4 separate regions of the Homo sapiens genome follow, and regions 1, 3 and 4 are each linked to region 2. The links are contacts of gene promoters, found by promoter capture Hi-C in blood cells and fetal thymus (Javierre and others, 2016). All regions are on one chromosome and are shown on one strand. The core of a region is centred on a gene start or on the middle of the fragment in contact, and the rest is flanking DNA. Distances in the headings are between cores, read along the strand shown. Region 1 overlaps COL17A1 (collagen type XVII alpha 1 chain). Region 2 holds the start of SH3PXD2A (SH3 and PX domains 2A). Region 3 overlaps SH3PXD2A (SH3 and PX domains 2A). Region 4 overlaps SH3PXD2A (SH3 and PX domains 2A).

The links. The method cuts DNA at HindIII sites, captures the fragments that hold promoters and counts their contacts. A CHiCAGO score of 5 or more calls a contact.
Region 1: a fragment that was not itself captured here is called in contact with the fragment with the promoter of SH3PXD2A in region 2 in 1 of 17 cell types (naive CD8 T cells); the score reaches 5.3 in naive CD8 T cells.
Region 3: a fragment that was not itself captured here is called in contact with the fragment with the promoter of SH3PXD2A in region 2 in 11 of 17 cell types (M0 macrophages, endothelial precursors, megakaryocytes and 8 more); the score reaches 12.7 in M0 macrophages.
Region 4: a contact is called between a fragment that was not itself captured here and the fragment with the promoter of SH3PXD2A in region 2, in 9 of 17 cell types (M0 macrophages, endothelial precursors, activated CD4 T cells and 6 more). The highest score is 6.9, in M0 macrophages.

What each region holds. Positions count from the first base shown.
Region 1 is chr10:104,059,408-104,062,481 of GRCh38, forward strand. COL17A1 (collagen type XVII alpha 1 chain) reads right to left here. Exons shown (of 56, transcript NM_000494.4): 12 at 2,851-2,922; 13 at 1,998-2,066; 14 at 712-873; 15 at 231-311. Among named protein-coding and RNA genes, the nearest start is that of MIR936, 13 kb to the left of the region's middle. The HindIII fragment of the contact is 3,253 bases long and covers 37-3,074 here.
Region 2 is chr10:103,854,066-103,856,876 of GRCh38, forward strand. SH3PXD2A (SH3 and PX domains 2A) reads right to left here and starts at 1,511. Exons shown (of 15, transcript NM_001394015.1): 1 at 1,130-1,511. The coding sequence starts at 1,201. The HindIII fragment of the contact is 2,015 bases long and covers 599-2,613 here.
Region 3 is chr10:103,606,093-103,608,896 of GRCh38, forward strand. The region is part of intron 13 of SH3PXD2A (SH3 and PX domains 2A); the gene reads right to left. Among named protein-coding and RNA genes, the nearest start is that of NEURL1-AS1, 90 kb to the left of the region's middle. RefSeq lists an enhancer at 1,272-2,129. The HindIII fragment of the contact is 4,461 bases long and covers 1-2,804 here.
Region 4 is chr10:103,641,826-103,644,581 of GRCh38, forward strand. All of the region lies in intron 8 of SH3PXD2A (SH3 and PX domains 2A), which reads right to left. Among named protein-coding and RNA genes, the nearest start is that of SH3PXD2A-AS1, 100 kb to the right of the region's middle. The HindIII fragment of the contact is 942 bases long and covers 1,036-1,977 here.

The DNA of each region.
Region 1 (3,074 bases), core at 413-2,912, 210 kb after region 2:
TTTTGCTTCAGTAATGCAAATGCAAATCACCTAGGAAGCTTGTTGAACTGCAGCTTCTGACTCAGCAGATCTGAGCTAGGGCTGGGATCCTGCTTTTATAACACACTCCCAGGTGTGGCTGATGCTGCTGGCCCGTGGACCACACTTTGAGTAGCAAGGTCTCCGAAGACAATGAAATGAAATGTGGCCTGGCTGAAGTCAAGGTGGACAACAATCATATTTGTTCTTACCATTAGCTTCGGCTTTTAGGCCTGAGTCAGCATTGTAGGCAGCTTGCTTTTCTTTTTTTAGGGTGTCTTCTGAAAAAGAAGCTATGTACAGAACCCATTATAACCTGGCATATTCTCTTCTCAACCTCTCAACTCTGTCCTGTGTTCCCCCCGCCCTTGCCCACTACCCTGCTTGGGAAGGTCTAGGTTAGACTGGTAAGAAGAGCCCCTCTTTCCTGGGGTTCATCTCCCCTGATCTGTGTTTGCGGTTAGACTTGCTGTCGCCCAAATGCCTCTCTGAGAGCTCTTTGCCTGAATTTTCTCAGCTCATCTGCATTCAAGGCAGACCCTGGAACATACTATTCAGACAGGTGCTTTTCATTAGAATGGGATGGCTATGGTTTCATGACTCATAGGGTCCCAAACCACCTTGCTAGGACATTTGGTCTCCTACACTATTTGGCTTTCTTCTGAAACCCAAGCCACACAGGATCTGACGCACTTGCAGCGATGCTGGCAGGGGAGGCTGTAAAGACCTTCCCGCTGTCCTTGGTCATGATGAGCAGCTCCATCTCCTTCTTGGCAGGTGTGTTGTCTTTCTCTAGGATCAGGAACTTGCAGTCCTTGTGCAAAAGGTCATCGCTCTGCACACTTGTGGTGCAGGCTGGGGAGAAAGAAAATGGGTAAGAAGGAAGGACATGTGCCAGGAGAAGGGAGAGGGGAGAAAAGACAAGAAGAGGAAGGAGAAGAAAGAGAAGGAGGAGGGAGGTAAATTAGCAGGTGTGTATGAGGGTCTCTTGTTCTTGCTGACAGTGGTTACTATGAAGCATCTTGGGGACCAAGGACACCCTCTATGCCTGGCTGGGCCTGGCCACCAAGAGTTTGGGTCAATGTCAGAAGCTCTGGATGGCTGGTTTATGGGGGCTGCCTCCCCTCCTGGAGATTATAGGATCTTTATTGAATGGGTAAAAGTCCCCCAGTCAGGTAAGTCCTTCCTTAACTAACTTGGGTTCATTTTTATCCTCCAGGTCTTAAGAGTTGCCTTCTTGAGGAGGCTTTAGCTGACTACCCCATCTAAAGCACTTCACCCTCATACACACACTCCTATCTCTACCACATTACTTATTGCTTTCCTTATAATCTGTATCCTTTTCTGTAATTATCTTGCATACTTTATGTGTTTGTCGTCTGCCTCCACCACTGACATCAGCTTAGTGAAGGCAGGAATCTATCCTGTCGTGTTCACTGCTGTACTGTCAGCACTTAGAACACTGTCCATCTAATACAAAGAAGGTGCTCAGTAAAGGCTTTCCAATAAATGAATTGTTGAATGGAAGACAACACACTAGGATTAGAACAATGGAGGAAACAGCTCACTGTATGGTGCTGAAATATGTGGACAAAGTTGATATAGATTTTGTAGAAAGCAGGGAGGGTGCCAGCAGTTTCTGAGGGCTCCATGAGCTGCATGTAACAGGTGAAGGCCAAAGGCTTCCAGTCAAGGGCAGTGGCTAATGTGCAAGTGCCTGGCCCTAGGCAGGTATGGAGGGTGGAGCTTCCTGCCCCCTTCTGATAGGAACATTCATGGGAATGTTCACCTTTATTCACTCATGGAAACATCCAAGAGGCCTTTGGGGCAAGTTGCGTTTGCAGGCCTAAGACCACTCATGGGTCCTATTTCCTCTTCCAGTATACCATGTGTATTGGAAGGATACACAGGCAGGATTACTGCAGAGTAATCCTCCCTGTGCACCAGCCTGAACCCTGGCAGCTGGGAGCAGCACTCACCGGCGGAGGTGGAAACGCCAGTGTTCACAGCCGCAGGACTCTGGGGCATGTTTTTCTTCACCCCATATGCTGCAAGAAAGGAAGCTGGGTCAGCATGGGAGGGTGGTTCCAGGTGACTCAGGAGAAGCCTGATCAGCCCTGGCAGAGAGGTACCCCCGACCCTCTCCAGTGAGAAGCAGATGATGAATCAACTCTCTCCAGCCATGGGGACAGTAATGAGGGTTTAGATGGAACGTTCTTAGGTATAATCCTCCTCATCCTTCTAGCTACTTCCAGGAAGTCCTCCTAGACCCCCATGCATCTCCTTCTCTCCTGAACTCCTACAGCCCTTAACACCTGCTCTGCATGGCCTATCACTTATTCCCATTGTCTTATAGAGCCTCTCGTTGTCTCATGTGTGTTAGACTTTCTCTTCCAATTAAGTAGCAGGCAAGTTGGAGGCAAAGGCTGACCTAGGTTTCATGTCCCCAGTCACCCCCAGGTTGGCACAGCGGTGGCAACCTGTAGGGGGTGCACCATAAAATCAACCAGATGATTGATTTGCAGTGACAGTGGGCTGTCAAGGACAGCAGTGAGCTGGCAAGACCACCAACCTAACCAGTTTGGCTGTGAGAGACACAGGAACATACAAGTGATGCCTTACAAGGTGATGCTGTTGACAGGACAGCCTTCCCTGTGTGCTTGACTCATGTCTGAGCCAGTTAATGATCAAGATTGATATCTTGAGTGTTGTGTCTTTGGTGGGAAAGGTCGACTGATTTTCAGGGACATTTTGGGTCTCCTAATTCAGTGAGTTGTAGCTGCAAAGAGGTGTCACTTTCCAGCGCCTAAGCTCCAACCCTAGCCTACTGACCTGTGGAAGTGGTGGTGGTGCCATGGGACAGGGTGGTCAAGCTGGGGGCCAGATTGTTCTGCATGCCAAACACTGTGAAAGCAACCAAGGTCAGGTGAGTACAGGGAGCACGGGGGATGCCCCCTGGCTTAGGACGGCCCCCAGAGTCCCAAACCACTTTCATGATCAATGGTTTTGCCAACAGATTCCCAAACTTCCTCGGTTCCCACACTCTTTGTAACGTA
Region 2 (2,811 bases), core at 261-2,760:
AAAGAAACTCAAAGTTCAGAGCTACACTGGTGACAAAGGCAAAAAGAGTAGCCCGAGGCTGACATTGCCACAAACCCCAGTCCCTTTGCAACAGTGGAAGAAAAGGCACTTCAGAGATCAATGTACAATCCAGGGCAGCAACCAGCGCCTGTTTTAACTGTTAAGATTAATGCTTTGAGCACTGGAACTGCTCCTCTAAATACCCAATTTGCAAATAACATGCAGTCCTCTGTGCTTGGGTCTCTTCTATCTCAAGTACAGGAGCACAGACGCTCAGAGGGGTCAAGGACACCGTGTTTACTTCCTAAGGTGTGAGGGATGGGAAGACAGGACCGGCTGAGATGAAAGGGGAACTGTCACATAGGCTCTGGAGCTGCCCCAGTCAACCTTAACCCCTTCTCATTAAAGTTTGGGGGAGGAAGGGGGAGGGGCGGTTCCTCGGAGACCACAGCAAACATTCGCCTCCTCGTGTCTGGAGATGGAGCATCACTTAAGAGGAAATGAACCCGGTTAAGGGTCACGTCCAGAGGAGGGATAAAAGGAAAAGCCACAATTCTCCTCACACCGACGGACACAATGGCTTTATGAGGGAAATCAAAGCTTAGCGCGGAGGGTGGAGGTTGGGCAAGGGGGCGGCGGCTTCCTTCTGCCCCCAGCCCCAGGCCTAGGAAGGCAGAGACAGAGCTGGCGTGGGAGGCAGGGCGCGAGGCTTCCTTCTCCAGGGCGAGCTCTGAAAGCATCTCGGGCTGTGTGAGCGTGAGCGCCCAGGGCCCCTGGGGAGGGCCGAGGAGATGCGCTTTCCCGACGGGGCTGCTCTGTGAGGGGTTGACGAAAGCTCCCCCCACCATCCATCAAAGGCGGACAGATGACTTCACCGTTGTAACAGACAAGGGCAGCCACTTGCCAATTCCAATGCCAAAAAAAGAAACCGGGGGGGCGGGGGTGCGAAGGAGGAAGGACAGAAGAGGCTTCCCTGGAGATCACAGCCCTGCGAAGAAACTCCACGGCTGCTGGCTGCCCAGTGGGCGCTTAGCTTCGCGACCTCACAGCTGGGAGGGGCAAGGGGCCATCCGGGGCCCTCCCGGGACCTCGGGCCACCCCCAGCAGGGTCGGCGGGGGCTGTACTCACGTAGTGCTTGGAGGGGTTCCTCCGCTTCTCCACGTCCACCACGGTGGCATCCTGCACGCAGTAGGCGAGCATCTTCCCCCACAAAGCGAGTGGCGCCCCCGGCGGCGTCACCTTCTCATCCCGGCCGGGCTCCGGCTCCTTCTCCAGCTGCCGGGGTCCCGGGGCCGCCCGCCACCCCGGCCCGGCGCGCCGAACGCTGCCCGGACTCCCGGCGCCCACAGGTCCGGCCCAGGGACGGGGGAGGGTCCCGGAGGGCGCGCGGGCTCCGTGCGCCCCGGGGGACTCCCCGCCGGCCTGCCGCGCGCCCCTTCACTCCCGCGCGGCCGCCGCGCTGCGCTCGCCCGCTCGCTCTCTCCGCCGCCCGGTGGGTCCGGCGGGAACTGGCGGAGCAGAGGAGGGGCGGGGGTGTGTCCCGTCGGCGAGGGGACGGGGCGGGGGCCCCGGAGCCTGCTGTCAGCGTCCTGGGGAGGGGCCGGCGGCTCCCCTTCGCCGCTCTCCGGCTCGGGCTCCGGGGGGATCGGCGCTGGCGGAGGCTGTGGGCGCAGGAGGCGGAGGCAGGGCCTGGCAGGCAGGGAAGGGAAGGGAGGGAGGGGAGAGAGGGGAAGCGCGCGGGGAGGGGCTCCGGGCCGGGGGAGGGGCTCGGGGCGACGGGGAGGGGGCTGCAGCCCGGCCCCAGTGGCAGGGGCGGGCCGACGAGCCCCCACCCGAGCCCAGCGCGCAGCCAGCGGCCTGGCGCAGCACCGGGCTAGTTCGCTAGGCACAAAAACTCAGGGTGGCTTCGGGGGGAGAGGGAGCGGGGAAAGTGAGCCCCGCGCGCCCCCATCCTGGCTTTCCGCCTCGGAGCGGATTTGTGCCTTTTTGTCCCCACTTTTATGTCCCCCTACAACTTCCACCCCCAGATCTCTTTAATGAGAAGTAGTTTATTACCCGGCTGTTACTGCCCAGGCCCCCGAGGAGGAGATGGGAATGGGGAAAAGGCCAGCTTTAAATCCTTCAAGCCAGAGCCTCTTTGGACGAACCACCTGACCCTCTGCAGGTCATAAAGGGTGAATTCTCCCCGGAAAAGTGATCGATTCGTTGCCTGAGTCGTCCATCGATCTGGGCTTGTGTAACTACCCTGTGCATCATTTACCAATGACAACGTTACAGACTCTGCATAACACCACTGCCTTAAGCCCAGGGCTCCCCTGGGGACCCTCCCCAAGCTGGCGACAGGGAAAGGAGCATACAATGGTGGGAAAACCCACCCGGTTGGAGGCCAGCTCACCGTGAGCCCCAGGCTCTGGCATTCTCACCCCTCCCTCTAGTCTGGAAAACCCACTTTCCAAGCCACTTGTCCGTGGTCCCTGGACTTGGAGCACAGTTACTACTTAATTCAATGTAGCTTCCCCCCTTCTAGTTCAACATTTTTTTCCCATTCTGCTTTCAAACATTTAAAGGGTAGTGTTTTCACAACTACTCCAGTTGTTACACAATCACAATAAAGCTTTGTGACTGTGGACCAATGTGAAACATCTGAAAAGAGGACAAATAATTTTGTGACCTAATTGCATTAATACTTTCTTCTGCGCGTTCTCTAGACTGTCAGAACCCAGGCACAGATCTAAGGCTTTATTTATTCACATATTTGCTCCATACAGAGTAACCCACTATTCCTCCAACCTTCCTGGGGAAGGGCGCTA
Region 3 (2,804 bases), core at 241-2,740, 250 kb before region 2:
GACTACTCTGATGAGGCTTTCTAATAATACTCAGGACTCACGGAAGACTTGTCTGAGCTATCAAAATTCTCACATTACTATTACTATCATCATCATCATCATCATCATCATCATCATCATCATCATCATTACTCTGAGATAGGGTCTTGCTTTGGGACCCAGGCTAGAGTGCAGTGGAGTAATCAGAGCTCACTGCAGCCTCCATCTCCTGGGCTCAAGTGATCCTCCCACTTCAGCCTCCCCAGTAGCTGGGACTACAGGCACACACCACCACACCTGGTTAATTTTTTTTTTTTTTTTTGGTAGAGATGGGCTCTCTCAGGATCTGGAAGAATTTGCTAAAAAAAAAAAAAAAAAAAAAAAAAAAGCTCTCCCCCTCCCCCTCCCCTTCCCTCTCCCTCTCCCCACGGTCTCCCTCTCCCTCTCTTTCCACGGTCTCCCTCGGATGCCGAGCCGAAGCTGGACTGTACTGCTGCCATCTCTGCTCACTGCAACCTCCCTGCCTGATTCTCCTGCCTCAGCCTGCCGAGTGCCTGCGATTGCAGGCGCGCGCCGCCATGCCTGACTGGTTTTCGTGTTTTTTTGGTGGAGACGGGGTTTCGCTGTGTTGGCCGGGCTGGTCTCCAGCTCCTAACCGCGAGTGATCCGCCAGCCTCGGCCTCCCGAGGTGCCGGGATTGCAGACGGAGTCTCGTTCACTCAGTGCTCAATGGTGCCCAGGCTGGAGTGCAGCGGCGTGATCTCGGCTCCCTACAACCTCCACCTCCCAGCCGCCTGCCTTGGCCTCCCAAAGTGCGGAGAGTGCAGCCTCTGCCCGGCCGCCACCCCGTCTGGGAAGTGAGGAGCGTCTCTGCCTGGCCGCCCATCGTCTGGGATGTGAGGAGCCCCTCTGCCTGGCTGCTCAGTCTGGAAAGTGAGGAGCGTCTCTGCCCGGCCGCCATCCCATCTAGGAAGTGAGGAGCGCCTCTTCCCGGCCGCCATCCCATCTAGGAAGTGAGGAGCGTCTCTGCCCAGCCGCCCATCGTCTGAGATGTGGGGAGTGCCTCTGCCCTGCCGCCCCGTCTGGGATGTGAGGAGCGCCTCTCCCCGGCCGCGACCCCGTCTGGGAGGTGAGGAGCCTCTCTGCCCAGCCGCCCCGTCTGGGAAGTGAGGAGACTCTCCGCCTGGCAACCGCCCCGTCTGAGAAGTGAGGAGCCCCTCCGCCCGGCAGCCGCCCCGTCTGAGAAGTGAGGAGCCCCTCCGACCGGCAGCTGCCCCGTCTGGGAAGTGAGGAGCGTCTCCGCCCAGCAGCCACCCCGTCCGGGAGGGAGGTGGGGGTCAGCCCCCGCCAGGCCAGCCGCCCTGTCCGGGAGGTGAGGGGCGCCTCTGCCCAGCCGCCCCTACTGGGAGGTGAGGAGCCCCTCTGCCCGGCCAGCCGCCCCGTCCGGGAGGGAGGTGGGGGGGTCAGCCCCCTGCCCGGCCAGCCGCCCCGTCCGGGAGGTGAGGGGCGCCTCTGCCCGGCCGCCCCTACTGGGCAGTGAGGAGCCCCTCTGCCCGGCCACCACCCCGTCTGGGAGGTGTACCCAACAGCTCATTGAGAACGGGCCATGATGACAATGGCGGTTTTGTGGAATAGAAAGGGGGGAAAGGTGGGGAAAAGATTGAGAAATCGGATGGTTGCCGCGTCTGTGTAGAAAGAAGTAGACATGGGAGACTTTTCATTTTGTTCTGTACTAAGAAAAATTCTTCTGCCTTGGGATCCTGTTGATCTGTGACCTTACCCCCAACCCTGTGCTCTCTGAAACATGTGCTGTGTCCACTCAGGGTTAAATGGATTGAGGTCGGTGCAAGATGTGCTTTGTTAAACAGATGCTTGAAGGCAGCATGCTCGTTAAGAGTCATCACCACTCCCTAATCTCAAGTACCCAGGGACACAAACACTGCGGAAGGCCTCGGGGTCCTCTGCCTAGAAAAACCAGAGACCTTTGTTCACTTGTTTGTCTGCTGACCTTCCCTCCACTATTGTCCTATGACCCTGCCAAATCCCCCTCTGCGAGAAACACCCAAGAATGATCAATTTAAAAAAAAAAAAAAAAAAAAGAACACAGGACAGAGGCAGACCCACCAGCAGGGAGAACACCACGTGAAGCCTGGAGTCAGGCTTCCGGAGTCCCGGAAGCCGGGAGAGAGGCGGGGAACAGGTCCTCCTCCCACGCCTTCCCAGGGAACGAGGCCCTGTCGGCACCCTGATCTCCTCGCCCCTAGAACTGGGAGACAACACGTTTCTGCTGTTAAGCCACCCAGTGTGTGGTACTTTGTTACAGCAGCCCCCAAAAATAAAGACACCATTCCATGTCAAGAAAAAAAAAAAAAAAAAAAAGAAAAATTGTGTTGGGATTTAAATTAGAATTTCATCGAATTTACAGATTAGGGATAAAATTGAATAATACCGAGTCTTCTCATCCATAAATGTACCTTATTTCCATTCTGCCAGGCCTTCAATTCATTTTTGTGATTTTTCTTCATCAAAATATTGCACATTTTAATTAAATTATTCTATTCTTTAAAAAAAAAAAAAAAAGAGAAAAAAACTAGAGACAGGGTTTTGCCTGGTCTCAAACTCCTGGGCTCAAGCAATCCTCCTGCCTCAGCCTCCCAAAGTGCTGGAATTACAGGCATAAGCCACTGTGCCCAGCACAAAATGCTCATTATTAATGCAGTAATTTCTAATCTTACATCTCTGGAGGTCTAGTTTTCAGATGCCTCAATAGCTGAATCTCAAAATGAAAATTAAAAAGCAGAGAAATCTCCTGTAATCGTAGTGCT
Region 4 (2,756 bases), core at 257-2,756, 210 kb before region 2:
GAGCGTTCTGGCACGAGATCTCACCCAAGGGCTTTGCCAGGCAAGAGTGACTCTGAATCTGCTTTCCCCAAACCTCAGGTATTTCCACACCACACACAACCTTTGCTATATCCTTGAATTACATATACTGTGGTTCATATAACATATACAGATGTGCCTTGACTTACAGTGGGGTTACGTTCCGATAAAGCCATCGTTAAGTTGACAATATCCCAAGTTCAAAATGTACTTAATACCCCCAATGACCCATCATAAAGCTGAAAAATTGTAAGTCACACCATCATAAGTCTGGAAATGGACTGTATATTTAAAGCAATTTGCCTTTTTTTTTTTTTTTTAACTTCAAGAAAGAAATTTGCTAAGGAAACTTCAGATTGCCACCATGAATAAACAACGAGGACCACTGGCTCCAACCAGAAAAGCACACACGATGAAAACAAAGCTATGTAGTACATTTGAACCGTGCCACAAATGAAGAGGCTGAGCCTGTGGCCCGCTCTTTCTTTGCTACACAGATTTGCTAGACAGGGGTTAAAGATCATCGAACATCAAACTGAGATAAGTCAGAAGGCTTGGAAGAGAACTGCAATGAGACAAACTTTTCCCACTGTGTGATGCAGAAGGATTGATATTGCCTCTCTGCCACCTAAGATCCTCCCCTGTATCATGGTGTTGGGTGGACTACAGCTTTAGGAAGCCAACGTCAGACTAGTGTGGTGCCTGGTCCTTCAGATTGGCTGAAGGAAGAGACTGAAGAATGAGGCTTAAGTTCTCATTGGTGAGATGGGAATATGAAACAGCATGTATTTACTACCAGTGTTGTGGGGAGAAAAAGAAAAGAAAAGAAAAGAATGGAAAGTGCCCAGAAATGTGCCTGGTGCTTAATAGATCTATTTGCAGCCTGGAGAAGAGAGCTGTGGTCACTTGAAATATAAAGATTATCCTTATCCATTTAACTGGCTTACTCCAGTGCCTAAGATGCGTACATGTACGAGTTTGTATATTTTTCCCCTTTCTCTCTTTGCTAAAAATGGAAGCTTCTTGGCCCCAGAATGGACTTGGTTTCAACTAAAAGCTGTAGGCTGACAACCATCCCCTCCCTCCCAGCTGAGTTCAGCCCCTCTTCAATTGGGCAAAAATAAAACGGGGACAATTTAGACTTTAAAGACCATCTCCATAAACAAAACAAACCCACTCCACAATTTGTCTAGGGCATTCCTCCCTCCAAAGCCTCCTTATTTAATTTCTGGGGAATTTTAAATAGAGGGCTTGCAAAAATCCAGTACCGCCTGACGTTAGCAGCTCTCTGACAACGTGGATTCTTCTACTTGGTGTGGGGAGCAGCCACCACGAATGCCGATGCTTTTCCAGGCTCCTTTCCCAGTTGGAATTTGGGAGCCACTGGTGTCACCCTAGGAGACAAGAGGCAGAGGGCACCCTAGGTGCCTAAGAGACAGAGTCCCACTTGGGGTCGTTTAACTCTGCATTCCCCAAGCCCTCCGGCCAGGTGAACCAATGAACCTGAGTAACACCTACACTAGTGTCATCTTAGTGTGTTTATTTAAGTTGACTTTATTTTTTAAAACTTAAACATGTATTTCAAAAAGACATTTTCCTATGCTACAGTGGATGGAAAACCAGCATTCCTAGGTATAGACGGGAGATTCCGGAAAAACACATACAATGAAACAATGCCATGAAGTTCAACAAGAGAGCAAGGCAAGTTCTAGCAAGATTCTAAGCCTGGGTCAGATTTGCTCTTGGTCAAACAAACAAATGACATCAGCCAGCGTCTGACAGATGTTAACAGCACAGGAGCCCCAAATGGAGATTCTCCCCTTGACCCAATGTGGAGTGAAAGAGAACTGAAAGGAAAGAAACTTCTCATGACGAGATTCAATGCCACTCAATGCTGTGTCCGCCCAGCACATGTTTGCACGACCCACTCTCGGGGAACCACTGATCTTCTTCAGGTGAAGCTTGGGGTAAAGAATCTGCAGACCAGGCCAGGCGCGGTGGCTCACGCCTGTAATCCCAGCACTTTGGGAGGCCGAGGCGGGCGGATCACGAGGTCAGGAGATCGAGACTATCCTGGCTAACAGGGTGAAACCCCATCTCTACTAAAAAATACAAAAAAAAATTAGCAGGGCGTGGTGGCCTCCACCTGTAGTCCCAGCTACTGGGGAGGCTGAGGTAAGAGAATGGTGTGAACCACGGACATGGAGCTTGCAGTGGGCTGAGATTGCACCACTGCACTCCAGCCTGGGCGACAGAGCGAGGCTCCATCCCAAAAAAAAAAAAAAAAAAAAAAAAAGAATCTGCCGAACCTTGGTTCAAATCCAAGCCTGGCCACAAGCAAGCTCTGAGGTCTCAACTGTTTCCTTTGAAAAATGGAAACAAAGCCACCTGCCCTACTTACCCTTAGAGAGTTACTCTGAGATAATAGATGAGAAAAATGCTTTGAAAAGGATAGGCCAGGTGCGGTGGCTCACACCTGTAATCCCAGCACTTTGGGAGGCCGAGGTGGGCAGATCGTTTGAGTCCAGGTGTTCAAGACCAGCCTGGAAAACATGGTGAAACCTTGTCTCTACTAAAAATGTAGTTTAAAAAATTTAGCGGGGCATAGTGGTACGCACCTGTGGTCCCAGCTACTCGGGGGCTGAGGTGGGAGGATCACTTGAGCCCAGGAGGTCATAGCTGCAATGAGCCGTGATCATGCCACTGTACTCTAGCCTGGGCGACAGAGTGAGACCAAG